Linked DNA regions of Homo sapiens: region 2 is linked to region 1. The links are contacts of gene promoters, found by promoter capture Hi-C in blood cells and fetal thymus (Javierre and others, 2016). All regions are on one chromosome and are shown on one strand. The core of a region is centred on a gene start or on the middle of the fragment in contact, and the rest is flanking DNA. Distances in the headings are between cores, read along the strand shown.

Region 1 (3,248 bases), core at 378-2,877:
AATTTATCATGTCTGATTAGTGTCTATGTCCTCCTGCTAGAATGTAAGCTCTGAAAGAACAGAAATCTTTGCCTGTTCTCATCACTGATAAATCCCAAGTACTAGAGAAGTGCCTATCAAATCATGAACACTTCAATAAATACTTGCTGAATGAATGAAGTTTAAAAAAATCTGCTACAAATGCTTCTCAAACTTTAATGCACACTGAAGATCTTGTTAGAAATGCAGATTCTAAGTCTGGGTTGGAGGCCAAGATTCTGCATTTCGAAGAAACTTCCAGGCCATGCTGATACTGCTGGGTTCTGTGAGAAGCAAGGATCTACATCACCCCTACTATCATCCAATTATTATACTGTACATAATAAAACATAATTTTTAACAATTAACCAAAAAATTTTCAAGTATGACCAGTACACAACTGACTCAAATTTCTACAGCACGCAAAGGACCACTCTGGCTAGGAGACAAATGAAAGCAACTTAATTTCCAAGAACTGTAGGTCAGCCATATTAAACAGCAATGTGATAATAGACTTCCAGCCCCCCGAAATACATAATGATGTACTTAGATCAATTCAAAAATATGTGATAATGATATATCTGTATTAATGTAGACTATAAAATTATTATGAAAGTGAAATATCTACTTCTAAGACATAAAGCCCAACAAATCAAAAACACTTAAAAACAAGAAAATGAATTCACGGTATTAAGATGTTTTCAACTCTTACCTCGAGAGCTTTAAAAAAACATTTGGAATTGTCTGAAGACTTTAAAAACTTCACAAAAAACGGTTCTTTGTCATTTCTGGACATTTCTGAACTGTCAAAATAAAGGAACCATTAACAAGAACAAAACCACATTAGATAAAAAGTTGCATGTTTAACCTACCTATTTTTCTGTGCAGACAAGAATGCCTAAAGACAGACATTCTGGCTCTGCCCGTGAATTCGTCAACGGCATTTCTAAGAAATCCTGGAACTTGGACAAAGCCAAGGTAAAAGATGACAACACCAATCCTTGCAAATCAGACAGCAAAATTAACCCGAATTGAATACACTGAGGAAGGCCCTGCTATGAAGGCTCTAAGCCCTTTAGGCCAATGGACATTCAATTGCACTTGTTTTAAGGATACACAGAGTGTATCTGTCCCTGCGGATACCCACGGCCTGCGAGGTACGTTCATCCCTCAGTAAACAGATTTTAAATATAAACATGGAAGCCAGTTAGCATGGTCTTGGCCCTGCATAAGGCTAGATGCTCCGGTTCCCATCTCCAGGAAAAGGCCTGGCTCTGGGATCACGGAAGCCACGTCCTCTCGGCGTCAAAGGCCCACCCGCCGGCTCCAGGGCCAGTTACCAGGACAGGAAAAGAGGGTCCTGAAGGCCACAGAAGGCATCGCGAACCCCAGTTGGGGCTGGGGAGGAGCTGTGTCCCCACTCCGCGCCTCACTTACCTCGTTGGAGCCTCGGGGTCTCCGGGCGGCGAGTCGGGGGACGCGCTGGCCGCAGGGCGGTGGCTGGGGTCGGGCGCCAGCCCGGCGCACAGCCCCCTCCCCCGACTCGGCGCCGCCCCTACCCCAAAGCAAACGCTGGAGAACCCGGAAATTGCCCAGAACGGGAACCGACTTTCGCGCCAACCGCGCGGCCGCGCTTGCCTTTTCCGGTGGAAGTGACGCCATCGGCAGCTGCAGCAGAAGAGCGGAAATGTCAAACGTGGAGGTGAGCAGTCTGTGGGCGGTGGGGCTTCAGGGAAAGCTTGGGCCGGACCCTTTGGGTTTAGGGCTTTGCTGGGCGGGCCTAGTCTCCGCTGCGAGTAGGCCCAGCGCCGTCGGTTCAAGAGGTAGGACCACAGGCCAGGAATACTCCTTTACTGTTAAAAAAGCCAGGGAAAGAAAGGATTTCCTCAATAGATATTTATTTTACACCTGTCTTATACCAGGCATGCACGGGAAAAGGTATTATCCAAAACAATTCCGTGAGGCAAATAGTGGTAGTTCCATTTTGTAGATGTAAAAACGGAGGAAGTTAAATGATGGGTTCAAGGGCACACGGCTAGTAGGTGGTAGAATTAATACTGCATCCAGGTCTTCTGACTACGGACTGGGTGGTTTCCCTCCAACACAGCAGGAATAGAATCACCGCCTAACACAGCCACAAGATGGCAAGGGAAGAAAGGATGACTTATTACACAGCTAATGCAAAGGGATCTTTGTCAAGATCTTCAATGGTCTCCCCTCCTCCTCCCCTTCAGTGGACATCGCCGTTCTCTTTCTCTGCATCTGCCTCAGTACTGGGGAGATTCTGGGACTGAACCTAAGATTCAGATGGCAGAGAGCAAAGGGAGAGGGGATAAGATGGGCCTGCAAACCTTAGTGATAACCAGCGGAAAACTGATTCGTTGTTGCTTCTTTTCATTTTATTCTTTTTTAAAAAAATTTTTTCTTATTTTATAAAATCTAGCCACTATACTAATGAGGATCATTTTATTATTCACTGCTGAGATTGAGAAAATGACTTTGGATTTACTAATGTAAAAGTATAATGCCATGTCCCTTGATTGTTTTTGTTTTTCTTTTCTTTTTAGAGCCTAAAGATAGTAATGAGCAGCTTGAGTCTTAAGTTTTTGAATACACCGATGGAAGGTGACAAAGATTCTTTGCTTGGCCAAACTTTAGTCAGACTCCTCAACCTTCTCGTAGGTTTATCTGTGCATTTCCTTGGAAAATCCAGTTAGAACCCTCTACCCTCAATATCTGATCAGGTTCCTCATCCTCTACCATCCAAGGTGATGTCTGATCACCTTGACCTATTTTCAGCAAGAAACCCCTTTACTCCTGAAGTTCCTTCTTAGTAATTTTTTATCCAGTGACCCCAAGCTTTTTGTTCCTTGGCTATAAATTCCCACTTGCCCATGGTGTATTTAGAGTTGAGCCCACTCTCTCTCTCCTAATTCAGAATCCCATTGCCATGGTTGCTATACCTATCCTGATGGTCCGGAATAAAATCTGTCTTACTGTGCTTTAATAAATATCATTAATTTTTTTTTTTTTTTTTTTTTACCAGAAATGAGTCAGAATCAATTAACACTGGGGCTCAAAGGTAAAGGCCTATTGCTGGGGGAAGGGTGAAGAAAGCCTTAAAAGCAAAAAAACAAAAATCACTAGAGGTGGGAAAAAAAAGAAACCACAGTTAATTGTTAAGGTGCAAATCTGACCTGAATCTGTAATAACAATTAATATTTCTAGGG
Region 2 (3,248 bases), core at 1-2,500, 5.7 Mb after region 1:
TGTTGTGATTGTTATTCTCTGGCTCCTCTTTACTTGATTGCAAATTTAAAAGAACACTCTGGCATTTTAGAAATATGTAAGCTTTGTATTTGAGCCTTTGCAAGTAAAGAATAAAAAGAGAATAGTTTACAATTCAGCCCACAGAATACGTTAGAACACTATAGAATGCTGAGTTTAGGAGAAGGTTCACTCCATATTAATCTTTTATTATACATGATTATGGTTAGAAAACGATTTGAGCTATGTTCAACACCAGCCATCTGTATATTTGACATAATGAACATGAGTCACAGAGTTTCAATTTTAATTACAGTTTTTGTTTTGTGATGCTTTAATATATGTTTGCAGTGCTGTGCATGTTGGTTGGGAAGCATTTTGTAACTTGAAAAGGAGAAAGGAACTTGGAATTCAGGTTTCTCAAATTACCAAAATCCTTCTGAGGAAAAATTGTATTATGTTGGCATGTGCTTTTTTTTTTTCGATTGGCAGTGTTGATGGAAGTTTCATCTATGTTATCTTCAGAACACATTTAGAGACTCCTACACCTCTGAAAACTTGAGAGTCAGTACTGTTTGGTTAATTTATACATTAATCAGGTGTGTATCAATTATCAGCAATGTGCAAAGCTCCATGTATGCCACTCCCGGTATTGCAAAAAATTATAATCCACATTTCCTGCCCTTTTCCAGTTATATAACAATATCTGAGGGATGCCAAAAATCTTGTGTGGGGTAAATTTCCAGTTGAATGGTATAAAAAGTAGGTAGAATTTAGAGGAGGAAGTGATCCCATGGCCTGGGAGTTGGCAGTTGGAAGATCGAAGTGACCAGAGACAGTTGGACCAGACAGCCTCTCAGACATGTTTATGTCTAATGCCAATATAAGAAATCATAAAAGTGTAGAAGTAAGACTCCTCATTCTTGGGTTTGTTCTTTTTATCCCAAGGACTTTAAACATAGATCATAAAGTAGTAAAATCTGTTTAGATGAGACTTTGGGATAGAGAAATGAAAGTTTGGAAAGGTCATAGCACTTCTTTCCTCTAAAATGGATATAGATGAATCTCAGCTTTTTTCGTATCGAACTCACGTTAGCACCATAGTTGGTACTTACTGAATACTTTCATTTTAGATTTCTGATTGTCAGATGCACAGCAGTGATTAGTGAAGGAAATATCAAACCTTGCCAAGTCTTTGAGGTTTAAAATTATCATTGATCTCATATGCATGATTGCATTTTATATTGTTGATTGCAAATTATTCTTATAATGGCCTTAGTGGGACACAGGAACTAAAAATACGTCCTCACAAACGCATCCTTGATTATGTTTTTCTATTTTAGGAGCGTTTTATTGTCGTCAGAGAACCAAGTGGCACACTACGCAAAGCCTCTTGGGAAGAACGGGACCGAATGATACAAGTTTATTTCCCAAAAGAAGGTCGTAAAATTTTGACACCAATAATTTTCAAGGAAGAAAATCTTAGGGTAAGGTGACTTAGGTTTTATGTTTTAGAGCCAGTGGTGATGATTTATTTGTAGAACCAGTTGGCTTTGTGCCTTGATCCAGATAAACATTTCTAATGATAACTTGACTTTTTTTTTTTTTTGAAATGGAGTTTCGCTCCTTTTGCCCAGGCTGAAGTGCAGTGGCGGGATCTCAGCTCACTGCAACCTCCACCTTCTGGTTTCAAGTGATTCTTCTGCCTCAGCCTCATGAGTAGCTGGGATTACAGGCGCCCGCCACCACGCTTGGCTAATTTTTGTATTTTTAGTAGAGATGGGGTTTCACCATGTTGGCCAGGCTGGTCTTGAACTCCTGACCTCGGGATTCGCACCCCCCCCCCGCAATCCGACTCCCAAAGTGCTGGGATTACAGGCGTGAGCCACCATGCCTGGCCGACTTCTTTCTTAATAGAATCCTCCTTACCACCCAAGATGGGTTGTACTAGGGTTCTCTCATAATTGGCTTAGCTGGAATTTGAATCTAGGTGTGACAATTACAAAGCCTGTGTTCTTTCTTTATGCTTCTTGAGGAGCACAGAGTGGCCAGTATGTGGGTGGGCAGGCCTGTCATGACATCAGGACAGGTGCTGAACTTCAGTGTTCTCATGTGATGCTAACTCTGCTGTGTGGTTTTAGACTATGTATAGCCAGGACAGGCATGTTGATGTCCTCAATCTCTGCTTTGCCCAGTTTGAGCCAGATTCCACAGAGTATATCAAGGTGAGTAGATTTTAGTTTCTAAAATATAGGCTTAAGTATGGTTATGAGTAAGATTTTTAATCTAGCTCAATGAATTTCGTTGTAAGTTTTGATACAGGGGAAAGGGAAGAGAAATACCTGAAAATCTATTGAGTACAGTTGTGTGCCAGATATATATTTTATAATCACAACAACCCTTGATTAAAGATGAGGGAATTTAAGCTTGTAGAATTAAGTAGCTTGCTGAAAGTTGCATAGCTACTAAGTGGTAGGGTTAGGACCCAAGTTTGATGACAAAGCCTATTCTCTTTTCAGTTTACCGTATAGGAATCAAATTATTTACTAAAATTTTGCTGAAGTACAGTGTGTTTGTCTTACAGCTCAGTAAGTATTCATTAGTACCTTCTATGTGTAAGGTATTATCTTGGGTAGTATAGGTGATGCCACGAACTAGGATAGAGTATGCTGTGCCAAAGCCAGCAGTCCGGATATGGCTGTGGGGAAAGGTGCTAGTAAGTATACAAATAATTATCTCCTCAGGCCTAAAATGCTAGACACTAAGAGAAGATTACAAATTCTTTGAAGAAAGCCTTCATAGGGGTGTAAAGGAGGGTTCTAGAAGTGCAGGAAATGTTGTGGCAGGTGGAGCTGGGTGAGGTGTTTCAGGTAGAGAGAACAGTATAAGCAACAGGCAGGAAAAAAGGAGGCTTGAGAAACGGCCAGTGATCTGGTTTGCTTATATATGCCATGTATATGTAGGGGAGTGATTAAAGATTAAGTTAGGAAGGTGGATGTAGCCACATCATAGGTGACCTCAGATGCTAGGCTGAGGAATCTGGAATTCAGTCAGCAGACCTTTGAAAGCCTTTTGAACAGAGGAATGCCCCCATCAGAACCTTCATTTAGGAAGATCAATCTGGAAGGAGGACTGAAGGACCTTTAGTTAATAAGATGGAATGGGCTAGCTGGTAGAATAGGGTAGTTGATGGGGGGAGGGATAGGGGAAAGGGAGAGTAGTGAAAAAATACTTGATTTCTTTTCTGCCAT

Evidence for each region. Contacts are between HindIII fragments. The CHiCAGO score rates a contact against its expected background, and 5 or more counts as called.
Region 2: a fragment that was not itself captured here is called in contact with the fragment with the promoter of TOPBP1 in region 1 in 1 of 17 cell types (total CD8 T cells); the score reaches 5.2 in total CD8 T cells.

The regions. Positions count from the first base shown.
Region 1 is chr3:133,660,314-133,663,561 of GRCh38, forward strand. TOPBP1 (DNA topoisomerase II binding protein 1) reads right to left here and starts at 1,628. Exons shown (of 28, transcript NM_007027.4): 1 at 1,456-1,628; 2 at 731-821. The coding sequence starts at 814. LOC124909487 reads left to right here and starts at 913. Exons shown (of 3, transcript XM_047449438.1): 1 at 913-1,033; 2 at 1,200-1,720; 3 at 2,586-3,025. The coding sequence starts at 913. The coding sequence ends at 2,735. It also overlaps a transcript of TF not described here. RefSeq lists a silencer at 1,415-1,584 and an enhancer at 1,985-2,054. The HindIII fragment of the contact is 9,162 bases long and covers 1-1,754 here.
Region 2 is chr3:139,348,839-139,352,086 of GRCh38, forward strand. MRPS22 (mitochondrial ribosomal protein S22) reads left to right here. Exons shown (of 8, transcript NM_020191.4): 4 at 1,341-1,484; 5 at 2,139-2,222. Among named protein-coding and RNA genes, the nearest start is that of MRPS22, 6.4 kb to the left of the region's middle. The HindIII fragment of the contact is 2,342 bases long and covers 80-2,421 here.